Regions from separate parts of the Homo sapiens genome. Here region 2 is linked to region 1. The links are contacts of gene promoters, found by promoter capture Hi-C in human tissues and cell types (Jung and others, 2019). All regions are on one chromosome and are shown on one strand. Each heading gives the region's core, a stretch centred on a gene start or on the middle of the fragment in contact. The rest is flanking DNA. Distances are from core to core; before and after follow the strand shown.

Region 1 (5,323 bases), core at 29-2,528:
GAAAAACAAGCAATTAAGACTATTTCAGGGCTGGGCACGGTGGCTCACACCTGTAATCCCACCACTTTGGGAGGCCGAGGCGGGCGGATCACCTGAAGTCGGGAGTTCCAGACCAGCCTGACCAAGGAGAAATCCTGTCTCTACTAAAAATACAAAATTAGCTGGGCGTGGTGGCGCGTGACTGTAATCCCAGCTACTCGGGAGGCTGAGGCAGGAGAATCGCTTGAACCCCGGAGGCGGAGGTTGCAGTGAGCTGAATTTCACCATTGCACTCCAGCCTGGGCGACAGAGTGAGAATCCGTCTCAAAAAAAAAAAACGTTTTTTTCACAAGGAATTCTGAGGACTTGTTGGCTCAATTGCTTGGACATAAAGACACACATACATGAAGCTGGAGAGATAGGAAGAAGCGCTCAACACAGAACACCCTAAGTATCCCTACTCCCTTTCAAGGACTAAATCCCTTCAGAGATTTCCTTTGCTTCAGTCCTTCAGGAGCCTCCCGAAGATGCTAGGAGTCGTTTAAGAAGGCTGGAAGATGGCCGTTGGGAAGGAACTGTTGGTAGCTGGCAATACTTCATCCCAAGGAGGCGGTGGCAATAGCTCCCTGGGCAGCAGACATCATGGATTTTCCTCCCTCTGGGAACCAGAGGTCCCTCCGTTTCTGGTTTGAATCCCTTAGAGACAAAGAACTTCATTCTCTCCCATACCCGCGTGGGACTGCTGGGGAGGAGAGGGGGTGGAGGGGTTAGACTTCTACCCCCATGAAACACCCGCGGGCTCAAAGAGGAGCCTGGATCCTGACTGGTCCAGGAGGCGTGCGGGGCCGCGGGGCCCCTCCGGCTTGGGCCAGGCGCGTTGCCAAGATGCCCGGGGAAGGGGCCGCCCGGCGCAGGCCGGGGACGTGGAGCGCTCGGGGCGCTCCCACGTAGGCCACACATTGGCCGCCTGTATCCTCCTTCTTTCCTCTCAACTCCATTCTCTCGCGCTTTTTTCCCGGGGAGCCTCCGCTTTCCCCTTCTTCCCGCGGCCGCCCTCGCCCTTCTTCCCCCTCCAGACCCTCCCCCGGCTCGCCCCTCCCTCGGCAGCCCACCTTCACCCCGCTCCTCCGCGCGCTCCTCGGTCCTCGCCCCTCAGCCCCGGCCTCCCCTCGCCGGCCCCCGGCCCCCGCGGTCCCCTCCCTGCCCCCCTCGAGGCGGCGGCGGCCCCTTTCACAATAGCGCGGCCCGCCTCCCTCCTCTCGGCTCCCGGTGCACTCCCGCCCGCTCCCCTCCCCGCGCATGCGTCCTCCGGTTGGCGGCGGCTGCGGCGGTGGCGGCTACGAGCGGCTCCGTTTTTTTAAAGGGAAACGCTGAGGCGCCGGGGGTGACTGTGGGGGAGGGGGACCCCGAGCCGCGGAGACCCCCGGGAGAGGCGACAGACCCCCTCTCCCGGAGTAGGAGGGCTTTGGGCGGACCCAGCCCTCCACCCCCTCCTGAGGAGGAGGGGGGGGAAATGGAGGCTCGGGGCGGTTGAGGCGAGCTCCGGGGCGGGGGGCCGGGGCGGGGAAGGGGGGGTGCGGGGTGGGGAGACGAGGCGGGCCCGGCCGGGCCAGGGGGGGCCGAAGCGAGCTCCGGGGATGAGCTCGGGGGCGGCTGGGTGCGAGCTCCTGCCTCTGAGGCGAAGGCGGCGGCGGCGGCAGCAGAGGCGGCGGCGAGGCCCCCATGGGCCGGCGGCGGGCCTCAGCCGCGGCCTCCACGTCTCCGCACGCCGGCGGGATGGCGCCCGGGCCCCGGAGGAGCCGCGCTAGCGGAGGCCTGCTGCCGCGCTGCTGAGGCGAGCCCGCCAAACTCCCCTCCCCCCCCTCAGTCCTCGACCCCCCGCACCTCGCCCCTTCCCCACCCCCTCCTCCGCCTCGGTGCCCGGCGCTGCTCCGGACCACTATGACCATGAGATCCGCGGTGTTCAAGGCGGCCGCGGCCCCTGCCGGCGGCAATCCTGAGCAGCGACTGGACTACGAGCGGGCTGCGGCGCTGGGCGGGCCCGAGGACGAGCCTGGGGCGGCCGAAGCCCACTTCCTCCCCCGGCACCGTAAGCTCAAGGAGCCGGGGCCCCCGCTGGCCTCCTCCCAGGGCGGGAGCCCCGCGCCTTCCCCGGCCGGCTGCGGCGGCAAGGGCCGGGGCTTGTTACTCCCGGCCGGGGCGGCCCCCGGGCAGCAGGAAGAGAGCTGGGGCGGTTCGGTGCCCTTGCCCTGTCCGCCCCCGGCCACCAAGCAAGCCGGCATTGGGGGGGAGCCTGCCGCAGCCGGAGCCGGCTGCAGCCCCCGGCCCAAGTATCAGGCGGTGCTGCCCATTCAGACGGGCTCTCTCGTGGCGGCGGCCAAAGAGCCTACGCCCTGGGCTGGGGACAAGGGTGGGGCGGCCTCCCCCGCTGCCACCGCCTCGGACCCGGCGGGACCCCCACCACTACCTCTGCCCGGGCCGCCACCCCTCGCGCCCACCGCCACCGCCGGGACCCTGGCGGCCAGCGAGGGCAGATGGAAGAGTATGAGGAAGAGCCCTCTCGGGGGTGGTGGCGGCTCGGGAGCCTCCAGTCAGGCCGCCTGCCTCAAACAGATCCTTCTGCTGCAATTGGACCTCATCGAACAGCAGCAGCAGCAGCTGCAGGCCAAGGAAAAGGAGATCGAGGAGCTGAAGTCAGAGAGAGACACGGTACGGGAGGGGTTAATCTGCATTCGGGCCGAGGAGCGAGTTGTGCGCATGCTCGGGGGAAGGGGGCTGTAGGAGGTTAAGGCACCCCCGGGTTAGGGGTAAAGGAGGTTGGCCACCGGCAAAGGAGTATCTTAGGCGCTGGGTCTCTGGGAGCCAGGCTCACAGACACGTTGGGTTGGAGGGAAGGGTTAAAGGGCAACCTCTCAGGGGGAGGGGGAGGGGTTTCAGGTGCCAAAGGGTTAATTTAAAATGACAGCCCCAGACGTGTGGGAAAGACGTTTAGTGGAAAAAGACGTGATCTGTGAGGGGTTAAAAATGAAAGGGTGGGGTGTAGGTGTTGTGTCCTTATGGAAGGGTTAAATTAAAGAGCTATTGCGTTAGAAATGCACGGTGGAGGAGAGGGCTGTAGCAAGCAGCTGTTGCTTTCACCACTGCTGCAGCATCTTTAGATAGGAGGGCAGTAGGCCTTTTAGTGGGCACAGGGGTAGAGGTGATTTACGTGGAATCCTATTTTAGTTTTCTTAAATGATATTAAGAGAATCACTGCCTTTGATTTCAGACAGCTTTTAATAGGAACCTGAGTTCTAATACATGACCCACTGACCAGGTCCCTTTTATAAGCATGGTGTTTGAAACTGGAAGATTTTAGGGCATCAGGGGAAAGTAAGCTTATTAAATGTATTAAATAGACCTCCCCATCCTTATTTTAGAATCTTAGGGAGTAGGAAAGTCGTTTATTATTTCTTTACTTCTGAGGAGCTTGGACGACACAGGCTTGTTTTTACTGCAGCAGTAGTTAAGGGCATCTCTGCGTTAAAACATATTCCTTCAGATATGAGGGAAGCTGGGGTGGGGGGTATTACTGTGCTAGCATACCTTACAGCTGCCTAAAAATAAACATGGTTTCTACAATTGTTGTGTTCAGGCTGCAGCAGTCTCTCTCTCCCTCTCTCCCTCCCTCTTCCTCCCTCCCTGTCTCTTTCCCTTTCTCTCTCTCTCTCTCTCCCTCCCTCCCCGCCGTCCTCATCTCTCCCTCTCTCCTCTTTCTCTCTGGCGTCGTGTGCGCTAAGAGCTGAGCAAGGGAGCAAGCGGCTATTCATTTTGTTTGCTTTCCAAATGAATCTCATCGGGTGGCTGTTTTATTGGAGAATGCATTCTGCAAGGTGGATTGGGAGCTGGGGCAGGTCTCATTAAAATATCTCATGGTGTTGATTTGTGGAAGTTACTCAACATGGAGGTGGCACTGCTCAGACTGTACTGCAGTCTAGGGGTGTGATGGTACCGTAATTACAACACATCATATCCTTGTATGGGGGGAGTGGGAAGAGAAGGACCAGTGAAGGAGAAAAAAATCAAGGAAATGTCACCCACAAATGGTGGTTAAGGGCTGTGAATCAAAACATATACAAGGAGATGAAATGAGAGTATGGCTGATAGGGGGGTTCTCTGCTGATTGTGGAGGTTTCTGCTCAGTTCCTGAGGTAATGGCCCCTTTGCAGGCTTTCCTAGTCAGGAAAAGTGGGGTGAGTTAAGGATAGAGTGTCAGTCTGAACTTGGTACTCACTGCTTCTGTTGTGTATTGCAATCTTAATATTGCTTAAGCTTGTTTCACTTATTCCAGTTGTTGTTTGGCCTTGTCTGAAATCTATGCAATGAATGTAATGAAGGCAGCGTTAAACATCACTGTCTAACCCAGATAAAATTCTTGTAATAGAGTATAAGTAGCACAACACCTTTTCTCAAAACTAAACTAACACAAAGTTTTCAATACTAATAGAGTTCCATTTTCTGTTTAGTTTTTTAGTCCTTCCTTTTAACTAAAACTAAAGGAACTTTGATTTTAATAAATATTTAGATGAATAGGTATAATTTTTTGTGTTACCTCAAATTCAAAGGAATGTGTTTATGTCATGATTGTTGGAATTATGGGTACTGATTTCTATTTTCCAAATGAAATGTTCATTGTTTTAAAAGTACCCCCTCCCACACATACCCCTTTCAAATAACACTGCCATTCCTGGTGGCACTGTATGAGCTCTTAATTCCTTCTCAATGTACTGTTTGCACTTTGCTGTTGTGTATAGAGCTTTGGAGTAGAAGTAGAGAGGATAGAATTTGGACAATCTCAGGGCCTCTTAAAAGATCATGTAGGCTGGGCGCGGTGGCTCACGCCTGTAATCCCAGCACTTTGGGAGGCCTACGCAGGTGGACCACGAGGTCAAGAGATAGAGACCATCCTGGCCAACATGGTGAAACCCTGTCTCTACTAAAAATACAAAAATTACCCGGTGTGGTGGCGGGCGCCTGAAATACCAGCTACTCGGGAGGCTGAGGCAGGGAGGCGGAGGTTGCAGTGAGCCATTGCAATCCAGCCTGGGCAACAAGAGCAAAACTCCGTCTCAAAACAAAAACAAAAACAAACAAACAAAACATGTATACAATTAATTCTGGAAACTCCCGAACCAACTTGGAGCCACACAGGTAGCAGTAGCAGAGACCATGCCATTAAAAGGCATGTTACGGCCCTTCCCAGTGGAGAGGATCTCCCTACAGAAGAATGAACTACAAATTACCCCATGCCTCTTCCCATCTAGGTTAGCCCTTAAAATTTAACAGTATACCTTCTCTTCTCTAT
Region 2 (4,944 bases), core at 1,436-3,935, 160 kb before region 1:
ACCAGCCTGGCCAACATGGTGAAACCCCATCTATACTGAAAATGCAACAATTATTCGGGTGTGGTGTCGCGCATCTGCAATCCCAGCTACTCGGGAGGCTGAGGCAGGAGAATCGCTTGAACCCGGGGGGCGGAGTTTGCAGTGAGCCAAGATTGGCACTCCAGCCTGAACAACAAGAGCGAAACTCAATCTCAAAAAAAAAAGAAAGAAAAAGAAAAAAAAATACAGAAAAGCTCCAACACATGCTCCCGTGCATCAGCAGGGGCTCAGGAAGAGGTGGGTTGCTGGGAGGATCACCTGACAGAAGAGAGTTCTCTGGGTTTGGGCTGGAGGCTGGCAGTGGCCTCCTTGCCCAGACAGGGCTGATGGGTAGGGGGATTGGCAGTGGAGGGGTGGGGGCAGTGAGGGCTGACACCTTGAAGCTGGATGCTGAGTTTGACACACTTAGAGCTGAACACTGATGTCTGTTCAGCCAGAGTCTGGGGAGGTCTTGGACTCCAAAGCTGATTTGGGAATTTGGGAAGAAACATTAAAGCTTTTTAGAGAATAAGGAAAGAGTATGGGAGCTTTACTCTGTTCAGAAAGGAGAATTTATGGAAGTATAGCTCACAATCTATGATCTGCACCCCCAAACATCCAACCTCCCATATGAGAGATAAAACACAGCATCCCTAGGAAGCATTATTCCTGCGCCTCCACCAGGCAGTCATGCCCCAGCCCAGCCTGTCTTCATCCCTAACCATTACCATTCCACCTCCTTTTGTTCAGGGCAGGTCTGGGAATATGTTCATGTGAGGGATCACTTCTTGCAAATGCTCCAGTTATCCTGCACCCTTCAAGTAGGCTCCAAATCCTACAACATTCTCCTTGCCCTCCCAACTCGCAGGGTGCCAGCTTCTTCCCATTCTGGCCAGAGTTTGTGACTTCCATGAACGCCCATAATCTACTTTTCTCTGTTTTCTCTGACCCCATGCTGAGGGGGAAATCAACAATAATAAAAAGGAGGCCAGGCACAGTGGATCACACCTGTAATCCCAGCAATTTGGGAGGCCAAGGTGGGTGTATCACTTGAGGCCAGGAGTTCGAGACCAGCCTGGCCAATGTGGTGAAACTTTGCCTCTACTAAAAACACAAAAAATAGCCCGGTGTGGTGGTGCGCACCTGTAGTCCCAGGTACTCGGGAGGCTGAGGCAGGAGAATCACTTGAACCTGGGAGGCGGAGGTTGCAGTGAACCGAGATTGTGCCACTGCACTCCAGCCAGCAATAGTGTGAGGCTCGGTCTCAAAAAACAACAACAAAAACAATAACAAAAGGGAAAATGAGTAAGGAAATAATGCCCTGTCCCAATGACTGTGTCTGTCTGCAGTGCACTCTATGGGTCAGAGAGACAGCAATGGTCCCACGGGGCAGGTGCCTGGGGCTTCCTCTCCTAAATCAATTCTCTCTCCTGATCCCTGTCTCCTAACAACCCTACATAGTCACAAGCTTGGTCTCTAAATCAGAGGTGATCATTGTCCATCACTACCTTAATTGACCACCAGAGGGAGGTAGAGAGCAAAGTTTACCGCCTGCCTGAGCAGCACTCACCGCATGACCAGGTCCTGCTTCCTTATTGTCTCTTTTAATTGACCTGAAGCGTCCTTACAAGGCAGTCTAACTTAAATATCCGCCAGTACAATTTAAATTCTGCCCCAGGCCGGGCGCAGTGGCTCACGCCTGTAACCCCAGCACTTTGGGAGACCGAGGCAGGAGGACTGCTTGAGCCTAGGAGTTCAAGATCAGCCTGAGCAACATAGGGAGACTCCCTTCTCTACAAAAAATTAAAAAGTGAGCCAGGCATGGCCGGGCGCAGTGGCTCAAGCCTGTAATCCTAGCACTTTGGGAGGCCGAGGCGGGCAGATCACGAGGTCAGGAGATCGAGACCATCCTGGCTAACATGGTGAAACCCCGTCTTTACTAAAAATACAAAAAATTAGCCAAGCGTGGTGGTGCGTGCCTGTAATCCCAGCTATTTTGGAGGCTGAGGTAGGAGAATCGCTTGAACCCGGGAGGCGGAGGTTGCAGTGAGCCAATATTGTGCCATTGCACTCCAGCCTGGGCGATAAGAGCAAGACTCCATCTCAAAAAAAAAAAAAAAAAAGCCAGGTGTGGTGACACATGCCTATAGTTCCAGGTACTGGGAGCAGGGAGCGGGCACTGAGATGAGAGAATCCCTTTAGCCCAGGAAGTCAAGGCTGCAGTGAGCCATGACTGCACCACTGCACTCCAGCCTGGGCAACAGAGTGAGAACCTGTCTCAAAAAAAAAAAAAAACAGAAAGAAAGAAAGAAAAGAAAAAGACGCAGCTGGGCACGGTAGCTCACGCTTGTAATCCCAGCACCTTCAGAGGCCGAGGTGGGTGGATCACCTGAGGTCAGGAGTTCGAGACCAGCCTGGCGAACAGGGTTGAAACCCCGTCTTTACTAAAAATACAAAAATTAGTTGGGAGCGGTGGCATGTGCTTGTAACCCAGCTACTCGGGAGGCTGAGGTAGGAGAATTGCTTGAACCCAGGAGGCGGAGGTTGCAGTGAGCCGAGATTACACCACTGCCCTCCAGCCTGGGAGACAGAGTGAGGCTCCATCTCAAAAAAAAAAAAAAGAAAAGAAAGAAAAAGAGGCAGGGCACCCTGGATGGGAGGAAGGAGCACCACCAAGACAAGCCTAAATGTGGATATTTTCATTCCAAAAGCACAAGAACTTCAACCTGGCTGACCCCACAAGCCCATATATCTCCTCCCTGCCTTGAACTCACCAAGCCCCCTGCTTGGAATACCAGTAGGCAGTCTGAGGGAATGGGACAATGTGGTGCAGGCAGGGTCGGGACGACACCAGGAGTGTGAGGACAGGCCCGGCAGAGTGCTCTGAGATCAGACTGAAGGCGGGAGAAATGAGAGAAGCAAGACTTCCCGGTCAGAGGAGAGAAAGCTGACTAGATGGGCTTTGCAGGTCCTTGGGGAGAGCAGAGCCACGTGTGGCTTTTAGATGCCACTGTTCTCCAGATCTTTGCAGAATCCACTAAACTAGGAACCTTGGCCTGCAGCCAGTGGGAGAAGGGTAGTCACTGGGAAGAAACTCCCAAAAGTCTGACCGAGGCAATGCTAGGCTGGTGAGAGGGTGGGAGTGGGACTATCTTCCCTGGAGCTGATTAAGGCATAAGGAGACTGCACAGCCTCAGGACTATATGCTGAAATGCAGGCATCACGTCAGTGTAGTGGCTGAGAGATACAAGGAGGAAGAGGTGGAAATCCAGGAAAACAGACAGAGATGAAAGGACTATAACACACACAGCAGGTTTCTATGTAAATATGTGCTTGTGATAGGGACCAGATGACTAACGACAACCTTTTTTTTCTTTTTCTTTTTTTTTTTTTTGAATCGGAGTCTTGCTCTGTCGCCCAGCCTGGCATGCAGTGGCACGATCTCGGCTCACTGCAACCTCCACCTCCCGGGTTCAAGTGATTCTCCTGCCTCAGCCTCCCAAGTAGCTGGGATTACAGGCACCTGCCACCACGCCCAGCTAATTTTTGCAGTTTTGGTAGAGATGGTGTTTCCCTCATGTTGGCCAGGCTGGTCTCGAACTCCTGACCTCAGGTGATCCACCCACTTCTGCCTCCCAAAGTGCTGGAATTACAGCCGTGAACCACCGCACCCAGCCTAACGACAACCTTCCCACACACTCAAGCCCCCACCTCTGCCTCTCCTAAGGAGAAGGGACATTTGATTGCTGGAATGGCTGGAGCTGTGGAAGGAGGATGAAGTATTGGGTGGCTGCAGTGAGCCATGATCAAGCCACTGCGCTCCAGCCTGGGTGACAGAGCGAGGCCCCGTCTCAAAAAGGTGTAGGGTGGATGGGAAAGTATGTAAAGAAAAAGAGAGTGAGCAGGGACCAGAGAGGCAGAGGCAAGGCTTGGCTTTGTTCTGTTTCAAGACATAGAGAAGAGATATTTGGGAGCATCTGTCATATTGAATGAGACTTTGGGGACACAAGTGGAGTAATGACTATTTTAGGGAGTTTTCCTAAGTGTGGAATGGTCTAGTCTCATTCACCATCAGCCCCTCAAGGAAACGTTCAGTAAAGATGGAATTGGCCGGGCGCAGTGGCTCATCCTGTAATCCCAGCACTTTGGGAGGCCGAGGCGGGCGGATCATGAGGTCAGGAGATCAAGACCCTCCTGGCCAACATGGCGAAACCCCGTCTCTAATAAAAATACAAAACTAGCCAGGCATGGTGGTGCATGCCTGTAATCCCAGCTACTCGGGAGGCTGAGGCAGAGAACTGTTTGAACCCGGGAGGTGGAAGTTGCAGTGAGCTGAGATTGCACCGCTGCACTCCAGCCTGGAGGACAGAGCGAGACTCCTTCTCAAAAAAAAAAAAGATGGAATTTACTCTTCACAGCATTCAGGGTTGCGTTTCTTTTTCCATGAGTGGTACTAAGAAGAGCCTCAAGGTGGGAGCAGGAAGGCTCTGCTGTGTCAGGTTATACCTGCACATATGCATGGCCACATGGCCCAACACTGTAAGGGCCTTGCTTGTAAGTCCCTTATTCTGTCCTCTAGCAATGTGACCATGTAGGCAACATTTGAAATTCCTTTAAAATTCCTTCTAGGCAGAGATTTAAGCTAAGAGGAGGACCTGAGTGACCTCTGGTGCAACATCTGAAAGCCCACGACAAGCCTCCTGGGCTTTTCCATGAATATCGCCGTGCCCCTGCCTACGGATATGCTGATGTGTGTATACAATATTCTGTGAGAAGCAGAGACGCTGAACACTAAACAACACAAACCCATTTGGTCTAACTCCATCTCTGCCTACTCAGACATCTGCTTCTAGCGGTATCAGAGTTATGTCTATGTAGCTAAAACAAATGGAGTAAGGCAGCAATACACACAGGCTGACAAGCCCA

What was found. The method cuts DNA at HindIII sites, captures the fragments that hold promoters and counts their contacts. A contact is called where the count stands out against the background at its distance.
Region 2: a contact is called between a fragment that was not itself captured here and the fragment with the promoter of MSL1 in region 1, in 1 of the 25 tissues and cell types used here (hippocampus).

What each region holds. Positions count from the first base shown.
Region 1 is chr17:40,120,693-40,126,015 of GRCh38, forward strand. MSL1 (MSL complex subunit 1) reads left to right here and starts at 1,279. Exons shown (of 9, transcript NM_001365919.1): 1 at 1,279-2,688. The coding sequence starts at 1,921. It overlaps LOC124904001 (a long non-coding RNA gene), which reads right to left and starts at 1,148. Exons shown (of 2, transcript XR_007065752.1): 1 at 1,092-1,148; 2 at 1-721. RefSeq lists silencers at 730-889, 1,120-1,319, 1,360-1,569, 1,630-1,769, 1,870-1,919 and 1 more and an enhancer at 2,120-2,758. The HindIII fragment of the contact is 12,972 bases long and covers 1-3,823 here.
Region 2 is chr17:39,957,580-39,962,523 of GRCh38, forward strand. No RefSeq gene overlaps it. Among named protein-coding and RNA genes, the nearest start is that of GSDMA, 3.0 kb to the right of the region's middle. The HindIII fragment of the contact is 3,350 bases long and covers 1,011-4,360 here.